Regions from separate parts of the Homo sapiens genome. Here region 1 is linked to region 2. Evidence: promoter capture Hi-C in 16 types of primary human blood cells and fetal thymus (Javierre and others, 2016). All regions are on one chromosome and are shown on one strand. The core of a region is centred on a gene start or on the middle of the fragment in contact, and the rest is flanking DNA. Distances in the headings are between cores, read along the strand shown. Region 1 has its middle 3.6 kb from the start of TRY-GTA6-1. Region 2 holds the start of BTN2A2 (butyrophilin subfamily 2 member A2).

The links. The method cuts DNA at HindIII sites, captures the fragments that hold promoters and counts their contacts. A CHiCAGO score of 5 or more calls a contact.
Region 1: a contact is called between a fragment that was not itself captured here and the fragment with the promoter of BTN2A2 in region 2, in 11 of 17 cell types (total CD4 T cells, total CD8 T cells, erythroblasts and 8 more). The highest score is 10.1, in total CD4 T cells.

What each region holds. Positions count from the first base shown.
Region 1 is chr6:26,587,906-26,594,661 of GRCh38, reverse strand. No RefSeq gene overlaps it. Among named protein-coding and RNA genes, the nearest start is that of TRY-GTA6-1, 3.6 kb to the left of the region's middle. RefSeq lists a silencer at 787-1,081 and a cis regulatory region at 1,746-1,850. The HindIII fragment of the contact is 1,186 bases long and covers 2,413-3,598 here.
Region 2 is chr6:26,380,419-26,387,182 of GRCh38, reverse strand. It overlaps BTN2A2 (butyrophilin subfamily 2 member A2), which reads right to left and starts at 4,075. Exons shown (of 8, transcript NM_006995.5): 1 at 4,002-4,075; 2 at 3,268-3,391; 3 at 1,821-2,168. The coding sequence starts at 3,361. RefSeq lists a silencer at 4,137-4,226. The HindIII fragment of the contact is 7,335 bases long and covers 1-6,764 here.

The DNA.
Region 1 (6,756 bases), core at 1,756-4,255, 210 kb before region 2:
TTTACTGTAAAAATGTTTCACATAGGTCCAAAAAAATAAAAAATAAACAAAACCACACCAATATTCCATGTCCTCCTCCCTTAGAATAGATAGGACCATTGCCCTTATTGCGCGTGTTGTCCAGCTGTCCTGTCCGCTTAGCACCTCCTCTCTCTATAGGAAGTAAATAATAAAGACAAGGTTATTTTAGACAACTGGGTTGAAGAGGGGGGACCTACCGCCTTGAAGCGAAGTTACTGCCCAGTTCATTTCGGAAACATTGAGATTCTCCTTTCTGAAGGGCAAGGAAAATTACACAATTTGTATAATTTGTAATTTGTGTTCGAGACACAAAACAGAAGTGCGTTGTGTGTGTACATATGTTTAGGAATTGAGCGGCTCATATGATATTGCACAATTGTAATGGGACAAGTAAATGAAACACAACACTTCTCTCTCCCCCTACAATTTAAAAAAGAAATATAGCATTCTATTTACAGGTGTCAACCTAAATAACAAAGAGAAGCTCTCTGAAAGAAAATGATGTTTATTTGGGAATAGAGCATTGCAATGAAAATACGAGTGCCATAGGAAACTATGTATATTCAGGGAGGTAAAGGAAGACAAAGGTGTTTGTTTGTTTGTTTTTGAGTTGGAGTCTGGCTCTGTCGCCCAGGCTGGAGTGCAATGGCGCAATCTCGGCTCACTGCAACCTCCGCCTTCCGGGTTCAAGCAATTCTCCTGCCTCAGCCTCCCGGAGTAGCTGGAATTACAGATGCCCGCCACCACGCCCGGCTAATTGTTGTATTTTTAGTAGAGACGGGGTTTCACCATATTGGCCAGGCTGGTCTCGAACTCCTGACCTCATGATCCGCCCACCTGACCTCATGATCCAGAATATAAAGTGCTGGGATTACAGGCGTGAGCCACCGAGCTCAGCGACAAAGATTTGTAAGGGAAAAAATGAGAAGGATTATATAACTGTGTTGAGGTAATTATTGTCTGCTACAAAAATGGATAGCAAAGAGGAAGCTAGTCCGAGGTTGGACAGGCAGTTGTGGGGCAGATGTCCTTGTAGAAGTATTTTTTGTGTAAGATTGTGATGGCCTGTGCAAGATTGTGGTTTTTGCAGTCTTTTGTGATAGTTTTTGTTATCAAGCATGGCCTTTTCCAGCTCTATTAATTAGCGTTTTTAGTTTGTTTTGTGTGTTTGTGTGTTTTAACAATAGTGACTCCATTTTGATTCTGACAGTTTTCACAAAGGTATGCTGTCATGCTTTGCTAATAAGTACCTATCATGGTATTCAGCTTCCTCGTGCCTAAAACAGAAATGAACACCAATGGGAAGAACGGGAAGGCATCTGGAGAGACTTTTCTTTTTTATAAAATTATTAGAAGTATATGGAAATTATAAATTGTGAAATTTATGGAAAGGAGTGTTGGTGAATTTATTTATAAAAGATCATCACTTATTACAGTTAAAGTTCTCCATAATTGTAATCTTGACAAAAATACGGTTTTTTTTTTCAAAAGATCCTCTCCAGCGTTTCCCATGAGAAATATCTGCAGCAACATAACTAATATTTAATTCAGTTATTCAATTCATTGCCATGAGAAACTAAGAATATATGGTCTGGTAAATTCCTTTCCAATAATGTAACCTAGTCGGGGAAAATACGAGAAGCCAGAGAAGAGAAATGAGCAGATTCTTATGAGATGGTCTCTGCCCATATGAAGTGTACTAACTGAGCCTTGGACACCAGATGTGAAAGCAGTTGACCAACCCTGCCATTTCACCACCAAACCCCAGGATCTCAGTTCACATGCTTTCTCGAATAAAAGCTTCACTAATTTTCACAGGGGGCAGCAAACATACAGAAAAAAATGCTCAGTATGTTTCTCATCAGTTACTGCTATGCTCAGGAGCTCCCAGAGCCTCCTGACTCTCAGTGACACGGTACTATAGAGTTGATTTTGATCAGGAAGAACTCCAATAGCTAATCTCATCAATTATTTTCTTTACCTATAAACTAATCTTAGCATAAGAATCACACCTCAGGGCTGTTAAAGTTGGAATTTCATTTGCCTGAAATGCTCTTTCCCCTGATAATCCCCAATATTTGCCTCCTGGGAATACAAGAACAAGTAATTAGTACCTTTCCGCACTAGATTTCTGTATCACTTTGAGGGAAGACTTCCTTCTTCCTCTTCTTACAGAATCTGGTGTCAGAACGGCCATTCTATTTATTCCCTCTTGTTGCAGACACAAGTTCAAAATGGGTTTATGGCTAAATCTAACTATCTGAAATAATTCTTGGAAATGTATCATCATCACTTGATTACAATCTCACCCTGTAGCTTCTCTATTGTTTTAGCACCTTTTCAACTTGCGAATTGAGTCCTACCTAGATGGTTTTAACTTCTCTTGAAGCTTACAGACCACTATAATATTCCTATGGAATAAAAAGGAACAAACTATTGGTAAACGTAACAACAGGGATGAAACTCATCTGCATTATGCTGAATTTACAAAGCCAGATACAAAATGCTACATACTATATTATTCCTATGAAATTCTTGCAAGGGCAAAGCTATAGGGACAGAAAATATCCTTAGTTGCTACTGGGGTAGAAGATAGGGGAGAAATTAAGTATAAAAGAAACATAGTGATTCAGTAAGAACAAAATAGAAAAAGAAGAAGAGGAAGAAGAAGGAGAAGGAGAGGAGGAGGAGGAAGAGGAGGAGAAAGAAAGAAGGAAGAAAGAAGAAGAAGAAACAACTTCTTTCTTCTTTCCTCCTGGGAGGCTAGGCCTGGTGTCATGCCTGTAATGGCTTGAGCCCAGGAGTTCCAGCCTGCAGTAAGCTATGATGGAAGAACTGCACTCCAGCCTGGGTAACAGAGCATGACCCTGTCTATTAAAAAAAAAAAAAAAAGAAGAAGAAGAAGGAGAAGGAGAAGAAGAAGAAGGAGGAGGAAAAGAAGAAGAAACATGCAGAAATTTGGGGGTAGAGTGATATTATTATTCCATATCTTGATTGTAATGGTGATAACACGACTGTCTATATTTGACAAAATTTGCTACACTAAGGAGAATGTACATTAAAACTGATGACATTACTGTATGTGAATTGTACCTTAATCTAAAAAATGGGAAGAGTAACTTTCAAAGAATTAAAGAAGAAAAGAAAAGTGTAGCTTAGAATTTAATTTTGAAATCAATGTAATCAGTGTAATTACTTTATTATCAGACTAAACAGGAAAAGCCATATGATTATTCCAGTAGGTGTAGAAAAAAGCAATTGACAAAATTCAGATACATTTGTTAGAATTTCTGCAAAGTATAAAAGACATATTTAAGAATTCAACAGCTAATATATTTAGTGATGAAAAACTCAAATGTTTTGGCCCTAACATCAGGTCCAGAGCAAGGATGTCCACTCTCACAACTTCTATTCAGCATTATCCTAGAGATTCTAGCCAGTGCAATAACACAAGAGAAAGAAAAAAATACAGATTAAAAGGAAAAAGTGAGACTATCTTTATTTGCATGTAACATTATTGTCTACGAGAAAATACTGAGGAAACTTCTACAAAGCTACTACAACTAATGAGTAAGCTTACCAAAACTGCAGGACACAAATATAATAAATTGTAATTCTATTTATTAATAGATTGTATTTGTTAACAATAAATAGTTAGAAATTGAAATACAAAATACCATTTGAAATAGTATAAAAAATATGAAACATTTAGAGATAAATTTACCAAGATGCAATGAAAGCAATGCATTGTTTCCAGAACAGAAAATTTAAACAATTTTCAGATATCAATTCCACATCTTTCAAATTGACTGATACATTTAATGCCATGACTATCAAAATCTCAATGATTTTTTTTAGAAATTGGCAAGCCAAATATAAAATGTATAAAATGTATACAGACAGTCAAAAGATGCAAAATATCCAAACTAATTTTGAAGAACAAAGTTGGAAGAACACTACCTGATTTCAAGACTTACAACAAAGCTACATAGAGTCTAGAGATAAACTTACATGATTATGATTAATTGATTTTTGACAGAGGTGCCAAGGTAATTCTACAGGAAAACGATAATCTTTGCAAAATGATGCTAAAAAACCTGAATATCCATGTGCTAATAAGTGAACTTAGACCCTTATATCACACAATGTACAAACATTAATTCAAAATTAATCAAAGACTTAAATGCAAGGACTAGAACAACAAAACCTCTAGAAGAAAACGTAGAAGGAACTCTTTGTGACTTTAGGTTAAGCAAAAAGATTTTAAATGGGACACAAAAGCATAAACCATAAAGGAAAAAATAAGTTGAATTTCATCAAAGTTTAACAAAAAATCTGCGCTTCAAAAGATACTGTTAAGAAAAGACAAGTCAGGCCAGGCATGGTAGCTCAAGCCTGTAATCCCAGCACTTTGGAAGGCTGAGGCCGGCAGATTGCTTGAGTCCAGGAGTTCAAGATCAGCCTGGGTAACACAGCGAAATCCCCTCTCTACCAAAAAAAAAAAAAAAAAAAAAGTCACAGTTTAGAAAAAGATACTTGGAAAACACTTCCCTGATGCAGGACTTATAACCAGAACAATAACATACTCTTGCAACTCAATAATAAGACCAGACAATACCCTTTTTTAAATGGACAAATGATTTGGACAGATATTTTACAAAAGAAGCTGTACTGATGGCCAATAAGCATAATAAGATATGTAACATCACTATTCATTAGGCAGATGCAAATTAAAGCCACAATGAGATACTTTACACACCTAAGAGAATAGCTGAAGTTAAAAAAAAAAAAGGTGAGAAATTAACAGTGCCGAGCGCCGATGATGATGTGAAATAACTGAAATTCTTATATATTGCTGGTGGGAATACAAACTGGTCCACCTTGAAAAACACTGTCAGTTTTTAAAAATGAAGTTATACATATATTTGCCATAACACTACATGAATATTTATAGTAGCTTTATGCATAACTGCCAAAAACTAGAAACATCCAAGTATCTATCAGCTGGTGAATGGATAAGTTGTAGTAAATCCACATAATGGAATACTGCTCAGCAATAAAAGGAATTAACTACTAATATATGCCACATTGATAATTTTTTTTTTTAAGACAGAATTTCGCTCTTATCACCCAGGCTGGAGTGTAGTGGCGCAATCTCGGCTCACTGCAACCTCTGCCTCCCGGGTTCAAGCGATTCTCCTGCCTCAGCCTCCCGAGTAGCTGGGATTACAGGTGCCCGCCACCACGCCCGGCTAATTTTTTGTATTTTTAGTAGAGAGGGGGTTTCGCCACGTTGGGCAGGCCGGCCTCCAACTCCTGACCTCGGGTGATCCGCCTGCCTCGGCCTCCAAAAAGGCCACCACATTGATAAATCTTAAAGCATTATGTTATATAAAGAAAGTCAATCATTGACTGGGCGGTGTGGCTCACGCCTGTAATCCCAATACTTCGGAAGGCTAAGGAGAGCGGATCACCTGAGATCGGGAATTCGATACCAGCCTGGCCAACATGGTGAAACACCGTCTTTATTAAAAATACAAAAATTAACCGGACGCGGTAGCGGGAGCCTGTAACCCTAGCTACTTGGGAGGCTGAGGCAGGAGGATCGCTTGAACCCGGGAGGCAGAGACTGCAGTGAGCCAAGATCGCGCCACTGCACTCTAGCCTGGGTGACAGAGCAAAACTCTTGTCTCAACAACAACAACAACAACAACAACAACAACAGGGAATTACAAAGGGATACATTCAATTTATTATTATTATTATTTAGACAGGGTCTCAACTCTGTCACCCAGGCTCTAAAGAGTGCAGTGGTGGGATCTCGGCTCATAGCAACCTCCGCCTCCCGGGTTCAAGTTATCCTCCAACCTCAGCCTCCCGAGTAGCTGAGGCTACAGGCACGTGCCACCACGCCCCGCTAATTTTTGTAGAGGCGGGTTTTCGCCTTGTTCCCCAGGCTGGTCTCCAACTCCTGACCTCAAGTGATCCACCCGCCCCGGCCTCCCCAAGTGCTGGGATTACAGGCATGAGCCACGGTGCCTGGTCCCAAATTATTTCATTTATACAGTTAGAGAAAAGACAAAAGTATAAAAACCAAAATCAGGCCGGGCGCGGTGGCTCACGCCTGTAATCGCAGCACTTTGGGAGGCCGAGGCGGGCAGATCACCTGAGGTCAGGAGTTCGAGACCTGCCTGACCAACATGGTGAAATCCCATCTCTACTAAAAATAAAAAATTAGCCGGGCGTGGTGGCACATACCTGTAATCCCAGCTACTCGGGAGGCTGAGGCTCGGAAGGCTGAGGCAGGAGAATCGCTTGAACCCAGGAGATGGAGGTTGCAGTGAGCCGAGATCGCGCCATTGCACTCCAGCCTGGGTTGTCAGGGGCTGAGAATGGATAGCAGCAATCGACTGTAAAAGGGCATGAGACAGTTTTGGGAAGCAAAGGATATGTATTTATCTTTGTATTTGTGTTGGTTACTTCCAGCATACATTTGCCTGAACTTGCTAAAATGTGCACTTTCTTCTCAACACTTACAGACTGCTGTCAATTTTTTTAAAAAAAATTTTAAATGCACACTTTGAAAGTTTTACTTGTACAAAACCCTGACTTATAAAGTAAACAAAATACTTTATAAGTTGTACTTTATAGGTTGGTGCAAAAGTAATTGCGGTTTTGCCAGTAAAAGATGGGAACAACCGCAATTACTTTTTGCCGTTTTCTACTGGCAAAACG
Region 2 (6,764 bases), core at 2,826-5,325:
CATATTGCCTCCTCAATGTCAGAGATCATCACCAAAAATCCTAATAATTCAGGCTCATCCTAAATATATTCTATCTTTACTAGAACCTTCAATGAAAGAGAATACCCAGAGTGAGAGAGCTGCAAAAGCATGGTCCTGGGAGACCCTTCAGCCATGCGTGATCATCCAAACTTCTCCTGAATAATTCCTTTGTAAAGTCTCCCAACAAATTATGTTAAAGAAAGAAAATTAAAGCAATCACTTAAGCCTAGTGCTTTCTGCTCTGTTTAATTTTTGTCAGGAGAAAAAAGCTAGTTGTGCATTTGAAGGCTCACACAGAAATCCTGAATTAGAAAAGAAATTAAAATACCTCAGCAAATTGGAAAACAAAGTCCTACAAAACATTCCATGGGTTCAATACGGGTAAGCATGACACAATAGATTTAAGGGAAAAATCAGCCACCAACCAATCCAACAAACAGAGTACAATAAGCAAGCAAACAAAAAGTCCTACAGCAACCCAATTCAGACTAGGGAAGGCCAGGACAGGGTTGGTTTTACAGAGAAAGAGTAGTGGGTCCCTGCCACATACAACCATTCATTACTGGGCAACATTGCAGTGCTGCTGTGAACACAGTCATGACAATGGGTCAAGAAGCCCTCCATCCACGATATTCTGTTTTAATCAGATGTAAGGTTGCCTTTGTGAGTAGCAAAGATAGGGTCTCCTACCTGTTATGATTTGGGGCCCCCTGGGAAGAACCCAATTTCCTAGTCCTTGCCTCCACTGGTCTGATGGACTGAAATGTCACCACGAATTATTCTGCAACTTAAAGGCTTTTTTCAGTCCTGAAATATACCTTTTAAAGCAAAATACACTAACTGCAACACTGAGGTAATCACTTAGTGTCACTTTTAACAAACTATTAGAAATCCCAGTTTAAGTGCATTTCTATGCTGAAGCCTTGCCAATTTCTTCCCAGCTAAATTCTTAGTCTTTCTCTGTGGAGTTAGCAGGAATTATAGATAACTTTGTTTCTGTATTTAGTTGTGCTTTAATAAAAATCATCTATTTATATAAAAGTCACTCTCTCTGCAATCAGTATTTCAGGAAAGAAGAAAATGTCAAGATTAATATTTATCGAAAAATAAGATTTCATGTCATAGTTCTCTGGGCAGTTCTTATTGATTCTGATTGCCCCGGGACAATTTTTGACAGTGTCTCCTTTCACTCTCAGACGTGCACAGTTCAGTGCCAAGGCAGGCATAAGACTTTCTTTTCCGGGATTAACTATTTTCCCCTGCTCATGGCCTCAGCTGAGGAATGCGTGTGCTTCTGAAGAAGTGAAGCCCAGGCTGGGCGTGGTGGCGCACGCCTGTAATCCTAGCACTTTGGGAGACTGAGGCAGGTGGATCACAAGGTCAGGAGTTTGAGACCAGCCTGCCAACATGGTGAAACCCCGTCTCTACTAAAAAAATGCAAAAATTAGCCGGGCATGGTGGTGTATGCCTGTAATCTCAGCTACTCAGGAGGCTGAGGCAGGAGAATAGCTTGAACCCAGGAGGCAGAGGTTGCAGTGAGCCAAGATCGCACCACTGCACTCCAGCCTGGGCAACATAGCAAGACTCTGTCTTGAAAAAAAAAAAAAAAGAAGTGAAACCTATAGCTTAGCAGGGCAAACCCACTCATGTGGCCTTTGTGCAAGAGGAAGCCACTTTCTCTGTGGAAAGGGGACGCCAGATAGAAATCCGTTGGTCTGCAATGGGCCTGAGGTTAAGGGAGAAACTTTCCCCAAAAGTCACACTGTGCAAAAGTAATAAAGCAAAATGAAGTGATGCACCTGCCACCACGAGGCGTAGGATGGCCTCATCGTAGGACCTGCCTTCTTGGAAGTAACAGCGGTAGATCCCATTCTCCTGGGCTGTGACGTTATGTATGACCAGGGCCACGCTGCCCCTGTTGATGTCTTTGCTCACAAAGGTGATTCTTCCCCGGTACTCCTCCATCTGCTCCTCTGTTCTCTCTCTCCCACCCTTATACACAAACACTGCGGGGGAGAACTGAGACCGGAACCACCGCACCTCCATGTCCTCAGCATTTTTCTCGGGTGACAGATGGCAGCGTAATGTAGTGTTTTCTCCCACCATGGCCAGGATGGGATTAGCTGGCCCCACGACAGTAAACTGGGCTGTTCAACAAGGGCAGAATCAGACAAGGATGCCAGTTATCACAACTCTAAGGCAAAACAAAAAACAAAAAACAAAAACAAACAAACAAAAAAAACTCCAGGGATGAAAGGAAGCAGATATTCCAAGGCTACAGGGGTTCTTGGGCTGAGAACCCTTCTGGGGACCAGTAGCTGTGGCTGGTCGGCAGCACCAACCCCTGGGAGCAGTAACTATTGAGGCTGCTCCTGCTTCACGAAGGAAACATTGGGGAGCCCGCCCTGGGCACCCTGTGCCCCTGAGATTTTCCTCCATTTTGCAATCTAGCACTGTGCCTGAGTGTAGTGTAAACTTGAACTGTCCATTAGGGTATCTATCCACTAGCTATTTAACAGTTCCAATAAAAATGAACTCTAAGTGTAAAACACACACAGATTATAAAGATTTAAAATTTCAAAATGTCAAATATCTCATTGGTAATAGTTCTATTAACTAAGCATTTAAATATTGATATGTGATTATTTATATGAAACAAAATACATTATTAAAATTTATTTCAAGTATGTTTTTACCTTTTAAAATAAAAAGTAGAATAGGCACAGGGTCTTGCGCCTGTAATTGCAGATATTTGGGAGGCCAAAGTGGGAGGATCCTTAACAGCTAGGAGTTTGAGACCAGCCTGGGCAAAATAGTGAGACCCTGTCTCTACAAAAAATAAAACTTAGTCGAGTGTGGTGGCCCTTGCTTGTACTCTCAGCTACTTGGGAGGCTGAGATGGGAGGATCCCTTGAGCCCAGGAGTTTCAGGTTACAGTGAGTTATGATCTCATTCTCCATCTGCTTCATTCCGGCCTGGCAACAGAGCAATATACTCTCTCTTAAATAAATAAACAAATAAATAAAAAGTTAAAAAAATCTTTTTGAAGATTTGCACTTGTATATGCACTTGACCTTTGTGCTTCACTGTGTTTCTTTTGGACAGTGCTGGTATAAATTCAGTGAACATGTTCAGAATGAAAGGATAAGTCAACAACCCCACAGTTCTTCCTTCTTTCCCTTTGCAGACTACAGGGTTGATGTTCCTTTCTGAGAGGTGACAGCAGCAAGTGACACACATCCCTACCTGAGACCAGTGCACACAGGCTGAGAAGGAGGAGGAGCAGGAGGAGGAGGAGGGAGGCTGGCAGGGAGAAGTGCAGAGCAGCAGCTGGTTCCATGAGCACCCAGGGCAGGCAGAGACCAGAGGCCTAGGGTTACAGAGGAGGAGAATCAGCCTAGGAGTCTTGGCACCTCAGTGCTGGTCGGGCCCAACCTCTCCTGTCACTCAAGTAGGTCTCATCGGTGCCCCAACTTCTGGGAGTCGCTTGCATCTCAAGGCTCAGGTATCTCCGAAAGAGGGATTCCGTAAACATTCCATAAGTAAGCCATCAATGCAGAGATCAAGGGGGCCGTTTTCCTCCTTCCTCTTCCCACTTCTCGGGCCACAGTCCGGTTTCTTCAGTTGTCCCTGGATTCTTTCACACCCTCGTCCCTCCACTTCCCCCTCCCCGAGACCCAGGTCGGGACACTCGAGGTAAAGCCAGGCGAGGCTGCGCCTCCCCACCAGTAGGCTTCCTGTCTCCCAGGTCCCCCTCTCCTCTCCAGAGCAGATCCCGCTCCCCGCACCTACCGCCCCCAGCTACCGCCCCCACCCCGGAGCTGTAGCGCCTCCTCTCCCTTTCCTACCTTCTAGAACTAACCTCTGTTTTCTTTTCCCCTCTGATCCTCACATGACGATTTTCCGATACAACTCACCCATGGGCACAGTCACCACCAGACAACAAAGCATCCCAAAGAGAAGAGAAAAGCTGTGTTCACCTCCTATTAATCGCGATGTTTGGAGTTGCGGACTCGGTATCTGGGACCTGTTCTCTGGGTGTCCAAAAAGTCCCAAGATTTCCACTGAGCAGTTTAGAGCCCAGGATTGGCCGAGTGAGGCTGAACCAACCAATGGTGTCTCGAGCCTTATTTCTCAGCTGTTACTAGGTAGAATACACACACAAAAACCCCCCAAAAATCTCAAGCAGCAAATAACCTTTTGGGATTATTAGGTATTTCTATTTCCTTTTTCTGTCTTTGGAAGCAAGACTTTTTTCCTTTATTTTCCTTTCTTCCTTCCTTTCTTCCTTCCTTCCTTGCTTCCTTCTTTCCTTTCTCATTCTCTTTTTCTTTCTTTCTTTCTTTCATATGTCTCTCTCTCACTTTATTCTTTCTTTCTTTCTCGCTTTCTTTCTTTTTTCTTCCTTCCTTCCTTCCTCTCTCTTCCTTTCTCTCTTTCTCTTCCTTCTCTTCTCCTTCCTTTCTTTCTTTCTCTTTCTTTCTTTCTTTCTTTCTTTCTTTCTTTCTTTCTTTCTTTCTTTCTTTCTTTCTTTCTTTCCTTCTCTCTCTCTCTCTTTCTTTCTTTCCTTCCGTTCTTTTACAAAGCCTTGAGATCCCCAAGGTGTCAGTGGCTTTGCTGGTGTAGACGAGGAGAGGGCTCTCTATGTAGAGTGATTTTGCTGGGGAGGAAACATGAGGAGGAAAACATAAGCCGCCGTCTTTCCAAAGCCAGAGGACTCTTGTTCATGTTGCTGGCTTTGAAGGTTGGGCCTGGTGCGCGGGAGGCCTTGGGGGAAGCAGGCATGGCTGGAGTGGGAGGGGTAGCAAAGGAAAGGTGACAGCAGTTGCAGTGGCTGTTATGAAGGTCTTGTTGTTCACTCCAAAGCTATTGGATAAGACGTGCTGAGAATACTGAGTGAGGATTAAAAACCCTTTCCCACGGGGAGGTGGTATTCTGGTGGAGGCAGAAGATGGAAGTGAGCAAAGACTTTCAGTTGACCTTGACCTTCTGCCAGTAGGTGGTGGGGTTAAGTCCAAGGACCACACACACACACCAGCACACATAACCTCCTCCCCATGAACATAATCCCTCCCCCACAGAATCCAATCTTGTCATTGTATAGATATCTTCCAGAATAATCTTCCCAAGGCCCAGTTGTCAATAATCCCCTCAAATGTCTAAATACTTAGTCTGGAACTGGTGCAGTGGCTCACACCTGTAATCCCAACACTTTGGGAGGAGGAGGCAGGCAGATCACTTGAAGTCAGGAGTTCAAGACCAGCATGGCCAACATGATGAAACCCCGTCTCTACCAAAAAAAAAAAAAAAAAAAAAATTAGCTGGGTGTGGTGGCACATGCCTGTAATCCCAGCTACTCAGGAGGCTGAGGCAGGAGAATGGCTTGAACCTGGGAGGTGGAGGTTAGGGTGAGCTGAGATCATGCCACTGCACTCCAGCCTGGGTGACAAAGTGAGACCCTGCCTCAAAATAAATAAATAAATAATAAAATATACACAAATAAATGCTTAGTCTAGAGGCCTCCAATTCCCTTCTGATTCAATTCAAAACTTTGCAGTTAATACACTAGCAATGGCTCCACAGTGGCCTTGCATCACAACGTTGCACTCCCTGTGGCCAGCGCTCCCTTTCCCATGCCATGCCTTTCACTTGAATTGCTTGCTCCATCTTTGCCCCTTGAAATCCTGCCCAGCCTTCGTGCCTACTTCCTCCAAGAACAACTCTGAATGCTCCTGCCTGAAGTGCTCTCGGCCTCTTCTAACACCCATATCTTTTGCTGTTCCCATGTCCTGTCTTCTATTATTGTTATCCAGGTATCAACTGTGTCTTTGCTGTGACTGGAGTACCTGTTCCTCAGGACAGACTTCTGCAGGATGTGATTCTTCTCTCCTTACAAGGCCCAACTCTAAGCTCTGCTCTCAGCTGTTGTTCAATGCATGAGTGACATGCTCAGGGTAAGGTCATTCCCACCACAGGATGGCCCAGTTCCTGGAATCATTCGGCACCAGAGTTCGAGAGAGAGGTGGCAGCACTATTAAGCCACTCTAGATCAGAAGATCAAGGACCAGGAAGGATGAACCAGTAGGTCCCTTCTGCAGAGAAAGCTCTTTGATGAGAATAAGATAAAGAAAGGCCTAAGAAGTGTTTTTACTATTGAATTGACACTTGAACTGTCCCATTCTCATACAGAAGCCTCACTCATCACCTGATATTTCTGGATTATAATTAAAATTGGATCCTGGGTTGAGTGGCTAATGAGGGTAATTATGTCAGTATTAGAATATTCCAACCAGGACTGGGCAGCTGTTGGGAAAGGACAGAAGAGAAGGATGCAAGTGTCTAAGAGCATGGCCACCCAGGATGAGACCTGACTTTATATTTTTATTTGAAGAAATAAGACCCAGGGCTTTGAAGCAGCTTGTGCAAGAAGCATCCAGCTAAGCCAGGCCTCAACCTCTGCCAAAGTTCATCTGAGCAGGAGGGAAACATGTGTGTTCTGAGAAGGAAGAGGATCATTTGGCCATGGGGTAGCTTAGCAAGAAACCAGGTTCTACTGGGGTGTGCCAGGTTAGATAGTAATGATCTAACCCAATCATACTGTGTCCTGGGATGGAAAAAGAGACAGGAAGGGTCACTTCAGAAAGATTCTTTATGGACATGGTGTACCTGCCAATCCTGGAAGAACCGGGACCCGGAGTGAGCAATGATTCACTGTTGCTGTGCAATAAACTCCAATCTTTGAA